3 separate regions of the Homo sapiens genome follow, and regions 2 and 3 are each linked to region 1. The links are contacts of gene promoters, found by promoter capture Hi-C in human tissues and cell types (Jung and others, 2019). All regions are on one chromosome and are shown on one strand. Each heading gives the region's core, a stretch centred on a gene start or on the middle of the fragment in contact. The rest is flanking DNA. Distances are from core to core; before and after follow the strand shown.

The links. Contacts are between HindIII fragments. The study calls those that stand out against the background at their distance.
Region 2: a contact is called between the fragment with the promoter of RETN here and a fragment that was not itself captured in region 1, in 1 of the 25 tissues and cell types used here (lymphoblastoid cells).
Region 3: the fragment with the promoter of FCER2 here is called in contact with a fragment that was not itself captured in region 1 in 1 of the 25 tissues and cell types used here (lymphoblastoid cells).

The regions. Positions count from the first base shown.
Region 1 is chr19:7,851,558-7,855,221 of GRCh38, reverse strand. It overlaps EVI5L (ecotropic viral integration site 5 like), which reads right to left. Exons shown (of 20, transcript NM_001159944.3): 7 at 3,645-3,664; 8 at 3,452-3,541; 9 at 2,039-2,136; 10 at 1,889-1,949. Among named protein-coding and RNA genes, the nearest start is that of PRR36, 21 kb to the left of the region's middle. The HindIII fragment of the contact is 4,759 bases long and covers 1-3,664 here.
Region 2 is chr19:7,667,241-7,670,904 of GRCh38, reverse strand. It overlaps RETN (resistin), which reads right to left and starts at 1,856. Exons shown (of 4, transcript NM_020415.4): 1 at 1,784-1,856; 2 at 1,461-1,588; 3 at 1,007-1,084; 4 at 450-686. The coding sequence starts at 1,578. The coding sequence ends at 556. The HindIII fragment of the contact is 23,719 bases long and covers 1-3,664 here.
Region 3 is chr19:7,700,404-7,704,067 of GRCh38, reverse strand. FCER2 (Fc epsilon receptor II) reads left to right here and starts at 1,937. Exons shown (of 11, transcript NM_001220500.2): 1 at 1,937-2,053. It overlaps LOC105372262 (a long non-coding RNA gene), which reads left to right. Exons shown (of 5, transcript XR_936296.2): 5 at 947-988. RefSeq lists an enhancer at 1,941-2,050. The HindIII fragment of the contact is 10,644 bases long and covers 1-3,664 here.

The DNA.
Region 1 (3,664 bases), core at 698-3,197:
ATCACTTGAACCCGGGAGCAGGGGTTGCAGTAAGCCGAGATCACCTCACTGCACTGCAGCCTGGGTGACAGAGCAAGACTCCATCTCCAAAAAAAAAAAAAAAAAAAGAAAAAGATATTTGCACTTTAGGTTCCCCCAGGACACTCTGGGGAGCAGGTGAGGTTTGCAAACGAGTTGAATCTCGACTGTACCTGTGCCCCCTTGCTTGATACTAAGGTGGTACAGAAATTGTTTGGATTGGCAGGTGAGTGAGGGCCCTGCCACACTGCAGGTCACACAGAATATTTCCTGGGTTTCTTCTGGGGAGAAAAGGTGATGGAAACACCTAGAACATTCCCAGGAAGCAAATGCAGTCAGACAGAACCGCAGACTTGACAGTCATTGATGCATGTCATGTGGGGAAACTGAGTCAGAGTGGGGCAGGGCATTGCCCTAGTCCCTCAGTTCAGCTGGGTCAGAGCTATTTCAGGTCTCTGGTCCTCATAGCAATCTGGAGCCCTGATCCCTGGCCCCTGGGTTTCCCTATCATCTCTCTGGCTTCAACCCATCACAGCACCAAGCACAGCCATCCTTGCAGGAGCTGGGCACACCTTTTGTATTTATTTCTATATTTTTGTAAAGACGGGGTATTGCTATGTTGCCCAGACTGGTCTCCAACTCCTGGCCTCAAGCCACCCTCCCACCTCAGCCTCTCAAAGTGTTGGGATTACAGGTGTGAGCCACTGTGCCGCTGGAGCTGGAATTGAATCCTTGTCTGTTGGACTCCAGTGTTAGCCACTGTGCGGCTCTGCCCCTGAAGAGCATGGAGCCAGGCTGTGTTGGGTTTGTGTCTGTGTCCCTTCCTATCACTGGTGCGCCCTCAGTCTCAGCTGTGACTTTGGCACACAGCAGGTGCTCAATAAATGTTTTTTTTCTTTTCTTTTCTTTTTTTTTTTTTTTTGAGACACAGTCTCACTCTGTCGCCCAGGCTGGAGTGCAACGGTACAATCTTGCCTCACTGTAACCTCCGCCTCCCGGGTTCAAGTGATTTTCCTGCCTCAGCCTCCCGAGTAGCCAGGATTACAGGTGTGTGCTACCACACCCAGCTAATTTTTGTATTTTTAATAGAGACGGGGTTTCACTGCATTAGCCAGGCTGGTCTCGAACTCCTGACCTCAAGTGATCCACCTGCCTCCGCCTCCCAAAGTGCTGGGATTACATGCATGAGCCATCGCGCCCGGCAATAAATGCTTGTTGAGTAAATAACTAAAATCACGTGTAAAGGGAAGAATGCGCAAGGAAGGAGAGAGAAGCTTTGCACACTCAGGAAACCCCCTGACCTGGCAGGGCTGGTGGGCCAGTTGCCCCAGGAACCAGGGGCCCCGGGTGAGTGCCCACACCCTGCCCTACACACCCTGGTGTCTGGGCCCTGCGTGCTCCATCTTTCCCCAGAGGGCGGTCCCCTTGCGGGGTCCTCCACTGCAACCTTCTTGGAATTCCTCCAGCCCCCAAGGCACGCTGCTGCCCTGGGCCTTTAGCCCTCGACACCCTGGGCCCGGAGCCTCTGCCCAAGTCAGCCTTGCCCACCGCGTGCACATCCTTGTCCAGAGCATTTAGAGTCCGCACTCTAGTTCAGTGGTTTATTGATTGCTTCCCCATGACGCTGGGCGGCCCAGCGGGGCAGGGACCTTGACTGTCTTGGTTACCGCGGCGTCAGGCGGGGGAGGCGCTCACAGCTGGCCTAACAGGTGAAGGACGGCGCAGGTGGGCGGAGGCCTGTCCGCCAAGGACCGCCGGGTCCGCCTGTGCGCTGGGAAGGCCCGCCCCCTAGCGGCCGATCTTTAGAGTACGGAGGGCAGCCCCCAAAGGCCTCCCATCCCTGTCCCCGCCCCTGGGCCCCTGGACTCACTTTGATCTCGATCTGCTCCTCCATCTCCTTGCTCTTCATGGCTGCGTACTCCTTCTCCAGCCTGCAGATCGGGAGGGCCCCGTGGTTACTGTCATGCCCTCGGGGGTCCCCCCTTCTTACCAGTACCCTGGTTGCCCAGCAGGCACCGACCTCTTCATCTTCTTGGGGTTGTACTTGACCTGGTAGGCTTTGAGGACCAGCTTGTCCGGGCAGCTGTCGAACTGGTGGGGGATCACTCTCTGGAAGTACTGTGGGGACACAGCCGGTCACCTGGTCACCAACATGCAGGCCCTGACCACCGGGGGCCGCCCGAGCCCTGTTGCCCTGGAGGGGGGCAGGAACGGGTCTGCCCGGGGTGTCGCCATGTCCTCAACGCCGTGTCCTCAGTGTTTGTGGAGCAATGGAAAGACTGAGCGTGAGGGGAGGGAATGGGGGACTGCCTGCAGCCAAAGCCTTAGTTTCCAGAAGAAAAGCTGGCAGATGCTGGATGTGGTGGCTCATTCATATAATCCCAATGATTTAAAAGCCTGAGGTGGGAGAAATAAATAGCTTGAGCCCAGGAGTTTGAGACCAGTGTGGGCAACATAGTGAGACCCCATTTCTGAAAAAAAAAAATTAGCTGGACATGGTGATGTACACCTCTGGTTCCAGCTACTCAGGAGGCTGAGGCGGGAGGATCGCTTCAGCCCAGGAGGTGGAGGCTGCAGTGAGCTAGGACTGCACCACTGTACTCCAGCCTGGGCCACAGAGCAACTCCGACTTAAAAAAAAAAAGAAAAAGGTAAAAGAAAAAAAGAAAAGCAGGCCAAGGAGGCTCTCCTGGGAGTGAAGGCTGAGGGTCGGGGGGTCTGACAGAGGGGACCTTCGTGGGGGAAGGAGGATGGGTATGCCGGGGGCCTCGGGCCTGTGCAAAGGGTTAAGGTAAGCCCAGGGGGGACACAGCTCCTGCACCCGGCCCAGCTGGCCCCCTCTGGTAGCTGTGGACAATGCCTGCCCATGTTCACGGACACAACCGTGGCCTTTGTGCATTCTTCCCTGAAGCACCAGCTGGAGGACGCGGGGAGGGGGCAGGGGCCCGCACAGCAGAGAAGTAGCGGTGGGAGGCAGGCTGGCCAGCAGCAGGGCCTCCAGGCAGGCCGGGCTGGGGCGGGGCAAGGCGTGAGGTTGCCTAGACCCCCAAACTCCCTCCTGTGCCCTCACCAGGCTGGGCGGCAGGGTGGGGATGCCCTCATGGTCAGTCAGTCATGATCTGCCATCAGGCTTTGGGGCATCTGCGGGGTTGGGGGCAGGAGGTGGGCAGTGGGGCTCCCAGGGCTCAGCCTGGGCCTCCTGTCTCCCTGCGGCCAGGCTGCTGGCCCCTGACTGTGTCTGGCAGAGCCTAGGGGGTCCTCTGGTCCCTTAGGGAGACCTCAGGGGAACAGAGTGGATGGGAACAGATCAGGGATGTCAGGCACACCACCTTCCACCCTCGAAGCCGGGCCCTCTCTGTCACTTGTGAGGGCATCCTGTGACTCGAAGCCCCTGATTGGGGGCAGCCCCACCGGCCCTGGCCCTCCCGGCCCACCTGGGACATCCCCTCCATGTCCAGCTGCATCAGCTCTGCCTGGTTCACCTGCAGCAGGGCGAGGCCCACTCGGAACACGATCTCCAGCCCCTGCAAAGGCGGCAAAGGCAGTGGGAGGTGGAGGGCAGGGAGGCTCCTGTTCCAACCACCCCCAAGGGGCTCTCTTCCCTCCCCAGGCACCATCGGTCCTCACCTCATACATGAAGATGTCAA
Region 2 (3,664 bases), core at 607-3,106, 180 kb after region 1:
GTTCCAGCTCTGGGCTGAGACATGATTCAGGGTTCCACCCTGACCTGGGGCTCCTGGAGTCTTGGGGCCCTGGAGGGTCCCGTCCACTGCCCAGACTGACCCAGGTCCTCGATGAAGCCTCATTATGAGGACTGGGGGAAAAGGACCCAGCCACTTCCTGGGGAGGTCGGAGACCCCAGGGTGAGCGTCAAGGTAGCCTCAAAGATGAGACGTCACCTCTTGAAGGCAGCCATGAGCCTTGGGTGGGGACGTCACTAGAGGAAGTTCAGGCCCTATTTTCGGAGGAAGCAGTTGGAGACCCCATAGGAGGAAGGGCGATGGGGCAGTAGAAAGTCGCGGTGTCCCCGCCCCCTCCAGCAGCTACGCGCCCCACTCTCTTGGAGACGCTAGATCAGTCCCTCCGGGCCTACTAAAGAAACCACGCAGGGCTCAGATCCGCTCCATCATCATCATCATCATCATCATCATCATCTCCAGGTTTATTTCCAGCTCCCCCGCAACCCCTCCGGACCTGGAGCCGCCTCCGCCCGCGCTGTGCACGCGCTGCGCGCGACCTCAGGGCTGCACACGACAGCAGCGCGCTCCGGTCCAGTCCATGCCCGCGCACTGGCAGTGACATGTGGTCTCGGCGCGCACATCCCACGAGCCACAGGCGGAGCCACAAGTGCAGCCGGTGACGGCGAAGCCTGCAGCCCGGAACACAGGAGCGTGGACTCTGAGCTGGGAGGCTGAGGGTGGGAGCGGGAGGGGGGTGGGGAGCGCGGAGGGGGGTTGGGGGGGCGGGGGTGGGGACGGGGACGGCTGGAGGCTCCAACCACTGAATGGGCACTGGAGGCAGGGAGTGAGGGTGGACACCAGTGTCCAGATGGTGGGCGGAGAAGGCTGGGAGTCAGGACCAAGATCCTAGGGGAGTAGAGGCTGGACACGGGGAACGTGGCGGGGAGGGGGCATTCCCAGGGGACTTGGAACAGAAATGGGCGCCTGGACAACAGTCTCCTGCACTCACCTCGGGGGCAAGTAGCCAGGTCCCCCCTGGAGGTGACGCTCTGGCACTCCAGGCCAATGCTGCTTATTGCCCTAAATACTGGGGGGCAGGAGGAAAGGAGACAGGGGGAGCTGTGAGACCAAACGGTCCCTCCCCCATCCTCCCCTAGCCCTGTTGGTTTGGAGCTAGGTCCCTGTGGGCATAGGAGCTCACTGGCCTCCAGGACCCTGTCTTGAGTTGGGTGTTTTGGAGTAAGGGAAGGTTTGGAGTGAGAGCGGGGATTGGGTTTGGAGCCGTGGATAAGGTGGGGACAGTCGGAGGGGTTGGGAGTGGAGTTGGGGTTGAATTTATGATCTGGTTGGATTTGAGGATGAGATTTGGTGAGCGCTGGGGCTGGGTTGGAGTCAGGTCTGTGCCAGGGATCAGTGAGGTCTCTGAGACCCTTGGGGAGCTTGCCCAAGTGGGGGGTCCTCACTTAGGGAGCCGGCGACCTCCTGGATCCTCTCATTGATGGCTTCTTCCATGGAGCACAGGGTCTTGCTAGACACCAACAGCCCCAGGACAGGGAGGAGGAGGAGACAGAGAGCTTTCATCCTGCAGGCGCTGAAAGAGGGAACCAAGAGACCCACAGCTGGATCAGCCCTGCCCTGTGGGGAAGATCCGGCCCATGGAGGGAGTAGGATCTGCCCCTGGACCTGGACCCCTGTCCCCCCATGTGGGGGACAGGGATGGAGGCTCAGCCTTGACCCCAGCCTCCCCGCTGGTGCCATGGCAAGCGCAGGAGCAGCTGTCACTTACCCTCTCGGTGGGCTCAGCTAACCAAATCCGGCACACGAATTCCTGCACCGCAGCTCTTTCTTTGAGGCCTCTTGGGGTGGGGCTTCCTGGCTTGGCTAATAAGTCCCTGGGCCCCCAACCCTCCGGTCCCACATCCGGGGCCAAGAGGAAGCCCCTGAGCAGACAGTAAGGGCTGGAGGAGGAAGGGAGCCTTCCCACTTCCAACAGGGCCTCCGTCTTCATGTCCAGAGACTGGTCAGGAGGTGGTGCCCCAGGGATAATGCCAGGGGCTGTGGTCTGAGGAACAGGTAGACAAGCAGAGTTTTGCATGCAAGGGTGGCTGATGCAAACATGACAAAATTAATGCCTCTTGCTAGGCATGGTGCGGACAAGCACTTGTAGTCCCAGCTACTAAGGAGGCTGACGTGAGAGAATTGCTTGAGCCCGGGAGTTCGAAGCTACAGTGACTTATGATCACAGCACTGCACTCCAGTCTGGGCAACAGAGCAAGACCACTTCTCTAAAATAGTAATAATAATTATGTCTCTGGGTGAGAATGACATACCACATTCATACCCAAATGCCCATGAGCAATAGAACTGGTAAATAAAATCATGGTTTATGGCCGGTGGCTCACGCCTGTAATCCCAGCACTTTGGGAGGCCAAGGCGGGCGGATCACTTGAGGTCAGGAGCTTGAGACCAACCTGGCCAACATGATGAAACCCTGTCTCCATTAGACATACAAAAATTAACTGGGCGTGGTGGCGTGTGCCTGTAATCCCAGCTACTTGGGAGGCTGAGGTGGGAGAATCACTTGAACCCGGGATGTGGAGGTTGCAGTGCACTGAGATCGTGCCCCTGCACTCCATCCTGGATGACTAGCTTGGGCACCATAGCAAGACTCCATCTCAAAAAGAAGAAAGAAAAATCATGGTTTATTCCATCAATGGCATCACCTGCAACAGAAGTTGGAAAGCCATTGCTCATGGGCCAAGGTCCAGCTCATGTTTCTTCTTGGACCACCCATGAGCTTGGAATGGTTATTACATTTTTATTTGTTCTTTGTTTCCAGTACAACGGGCCTTTTTGTGGTAAAATACATATAACATACAACTTACCATTATAACTTACTTTTTTCTTTTTTGAGACGGAATCTTGCTCTGTCGCCCAGGCTGGAGTGCAGTGGCGCGATCTCGGCTCACTACAAGCTCCGCCTCCTGGGTTCACGCCATTCTCCTGCTTCAGCCTCCCAAGTAGCTGGGACTACAGGCGCCTGCCACCACGCCCAGCTAATTTTTTGTATTTTTTTTTTTTTAGTAGAGATGGAGTTTCACCGTGTTAGCCAGGATGGTCTCGATCCCCTGACCTTGTGATCTGCCCGCCTTGGCCTCCCAAAGTGCTGGGATTACAGGCGTGAACCACCGTGCCCGGCCTTTTTTTTTTTTTTTTTGAGACGGGGTCTTGCTATGTTGCCCAAGCTAGTGTCAGACTCCTGGCTTCAAGTAATCCTCCCACCTTGGACTCCCCAGTAGCTGAAGCTACAGGTATGCACCATCTTGTTCCATTTTAACCATTGCTTTTGTTTGTTTCTTTGTTTCAGAGTCTCACTCAGTTGCTCAGGCTGGAGTACAGTGGCTCAATCTTGGCTCACTGCAACCTCCACCTCCTGGGTTCAAGCAATTCTCCTGCCTCAGCCTCCCGAGTAGCTGGGATTACAGGCGTGCACCACCATGCCCGGCTAATTTTTTGTATTTTTAGTAGAGATGGGGTTTCACCATGTTGGCCAGGCTGGTCTCAAATTCCTGACCTCAAGTGATCCACCCGCCTCAGCCTCCCAAAGTGCCGGGATTACAGGTGTGAGCCACCATGCCCAGCCTATTTTAACCATTTTTCAGAGCAC
Region 3 (3,664 bases), core at 688-3,187, 150 kb after region 1:
GAGGCAGAGGTTATGGGGAGCTGAGATCATGCCACTGTACTCCAGCCTGGATGACACAGCAAGACTCTGTCTCAAAAAAAGAAAAAAAATCAAAAAGGAAGGGAAAGAGTTGGCCGCTGAGCATTGGAGAGGTGGCTGGGGGCTGCTGAGTGGACATAGGGACAGCATTTGAGGCCAAGCCAGGGTGGGGTCACTGGGGGATTAGTCTTGAGGGCAGGTCGGGTTGGGGATCCTAAGGGGGGGTCTGCCGTGGTGGCCAGGTGGGAGTGAGGACCCTGGAGGGTCTGTTTTGGGGGGCAAGACAGGAGGTAGAGCCCCAGGGAAGGCTGTCATGGGGGCAGGATGAGAGTGGGGAGGCCATGGAGGAGGCAGTCCCAGGGACAAGGCAAACCAGGCAGGGGGAACCCTAAGAGGGGGATGTCACCTGGTCCAGGGGGAAGAGGGAGCAGCTGTGGGGATGGGGAGAAGCAGGTTATTTTTTTGAGACGAGCCAGGCGCGGGTGCTGGGTGAGCGGTGGGGTGGAAGATCGGGAAGTGCTTGGACAAGGCCTGGACCTGGGCCGGGGTGTCTGGGTGGATGGACGGACTGTCCCACCAATGGGGACACACGAGGAGAAGGAGGAGGAAGCTTGGGAATAAGTCCAGCTGGGCCATGTTGTGAGGACATGGGGATGAAGTCTTAGTTCCAGGATGGGGCTGGGATGGAGTTTGGTGTTTCTTTTCTGTTTTTCTTTCTTTTTTCTTTTCTTTTTTTTTTTTGTGAGACAGAGTTTAGCTTTTGTTGCCCAGGCTGGAATGCAATGGCGCGATCTCGGCTCACCGCAACCTCTGCCTCCCGGATTCAAGCGATTCTCCTGCCTCAGCCTCCCGAGTAGCTAGGATTACAGGTGCCCACCACCATGCCCAGCTAATTTTTTTTTTTTTTTTTTTTTTTTTGTATTTTCAGTAGATACAGGGTTTCACCATGTTGGCCTTGAACTCCTGACCTCAGATGATCCACCTGCCTCGGCCTCCCAAAGTGCTGGGATTACAGGCGTGAGCCACTGTGCCCGGTCTCTCTCTCTCTCTTTCTCTCTCTCTTTCTTTCTTTCATCTCACTGTGTTGCCCAGGCTGATCTTGAACTCCTGGGCTCAAGTGATCCACTCACCTCTGCCTCCCCAGTAGCTGGGATCACAGGCATGCACCACCATGCCCTGCTAGTTTTTATAGTTTTTGTAGAGACAACGGCTTGCTATGTTGTCCAGGCTGGTCTTGAACTCCCAGGCTTAAGTGATCCTCCCACCTCAGCCTCCCAAAGTGCTGGGATTACAGGCGTGAGCCACCGTGCCCAGCCAAAACTGTCCATATTTGACCTGAATATTATCTCACGTATCTTTCTTTCCCCCCGCTTCCCTCCTTCCCTCCTACTCCTCCTTCTCCCTCTCCTTCCTTCTGTCTTTTTTTTCCCCTTCCTCTGCCTCTCTCTCCTCTTCCCTTTTTTCTTGCTGGGACTCAAACCTGGGACATTTGACCTGGGAGCCTATTTGCTCAATCATCAAGAGACATAATCTCATGGTGGGGTGTCTGCTGGTAAGTGCCGGGTGGCAGGATCCCAACTCCAGGCCGTCCTTCTAACCCAAGAGGCCCTGCCTCTGCCTAGAGCCTTCCGTGGCTCCCCAGGGCCCTCTGTGATCGGCCATAGTGGTATGATTCAGTGTGCAGTAACAGTGGTTCACATCTTGACGCTACCACTCACCTCCTTCAGCCCTGTGGGAACTTGCTGCTTAACATCTCTAGTTCTCACCCAATTCTCTTACCTGAGAAATGGAGATAATAATAACACGGACTTCACCCGGGTGTGGGGAGCACCAGGAGAGGCCATGCGTGTAATGTTATCCGGGTGGCAAGCCCATATTTAGGTCTATGAAAATAGAAGCTGTCAGTGGCTCTACTTTCAGAAGAAAGTGTCTCTCTTCCTGCTTAAACCTCTGTCTCTGACGGTCCCTGCCAATCGCTCTGGTCGACCCCAACACACTAGGAGGACAGACACAGGCTCCAAACTCCACTAAGTGAGTACGTATCTGGTGTGTTGGGGGTTGGCCATGGGAAGTGGAGATCAAAGCGCCCTTGGAAGAAACGACCTTGGGCTGAGCCTCAAGGGATGACCAGCAGGAGGTCACAACCAGAGAAGGGAGGTGGTGGGTGGTGAGGGGGCGGGGGTGGGGGCCGCAGTGTGGACAGAATCTCGAGGCATTCGAGTCCCTGATTTGGGGAAGTGAAAGCAGGCCATCTGGTCTGAGATGAGCTTGGTGAGTGCGCTGGGCCGATCATAGAGGGCCCTGGGGAGCCATGGAAGACTCTAGGCAGAGGCAGGACCTCTTGGGTTAGAAGGACGGCCTGGAGTTGGGATCCTGCCACCCAGCACTTACCAGTAGACACCCCACCATGAGATTATGTCTCCAGATGATTGAGCAAATGGGCTCCCAGCTCAAGGGTCCCGGGTTTGAGTTCCAGTCCCACCACTGCGTGATGGGGACAAATGACTTACCCTCTTGGAACCTCAGTTCCACTGAGAGAGGCCCCACAGAATGAGGACAGTCCCCCAGCATCCTGCCAGTAGGTTTACTGAGCACCTACTGTGTGCTGGTGCTTTGAATACTCCCAATTTACAGATGAGCAAACTGAGCTGCTCATCCAGGAAGAAGCCAGGACTCGGACTCAGGTCTGTCCAGCTGCCTCCCTGGACAGTTCCAGTCCCAGGATGGTCTCTGGGTTCCTCTCACAATGTCAAAAGGGCCAGCTTGAGCTGCCGCTAATCAGAGCCTGGCCGCGCCACACCCCACCTCCCTGAGGCTCCGAGAGAAGGGACTTACCTATAGTCAAGCAGCGAAAGAAGGTAGCCCGTGACCTCCAGGCCTGAAGGACCCCAAGTCCCATGCTCCTCAGCACATAGTAGATGCTTTAAAGTCAGAGGACTTGGTCGGGCGCAGTGGCTCACGCCTGTAATCCTAGCACTTTGGGAGGCTGAGGAGGGCAGATCACCTGTGGTCAGGAGTTCGAGACCAGCCTGATCAATATGGTGAAACCCTGTCTCTACTAAAATACAAAAATTAGCCAGGTGTGGTGGTGGGTGCCTGTAGTCCCAGCTACTTGGGAGGCTAAGACAGGAGAATCGCTTGAACCCGGGAGGTGGAGGTTGCAGTGAGCCAAGATGGTGCCATTGCACTCTAGCCTGGGTGACAGAGCGAGACTCCATCTCAAAAAATAAAAAAATAGGCCATGCACAGTGGCTCACGCCTGTAATCCCAGCACTTTGGGAGGCCGAGGCGGGCGGATCATGAGGTCAGGAGTTTGAGACTAGCCTGGCCAACATAGTGAAAACCCGTCTCTACTAAAAATACAAAAATTATCTGGTCATGGTGGCACGTGCCTATAGTCCCAGCTACTCGGGAGGCTGAGGCGGGAGAATCGCTTGAACCCAGGAGGTGGAGGTGGCAGTGAGCCGAGATCGTGCCCCTGCACTCCAGCCTGGGCAACAGAGCGAGACTCCATTTCAATAAATAAATAAATAAATAAATAAAGTCAGAGCACTTTACAGATGCCCTGGGGACATTGGCAGAGGAGAAGGCTGAGGCCTGGGTTATGGGCTCTTAGCATTTCTCAGTGGGACGTGGCACAGAGTAG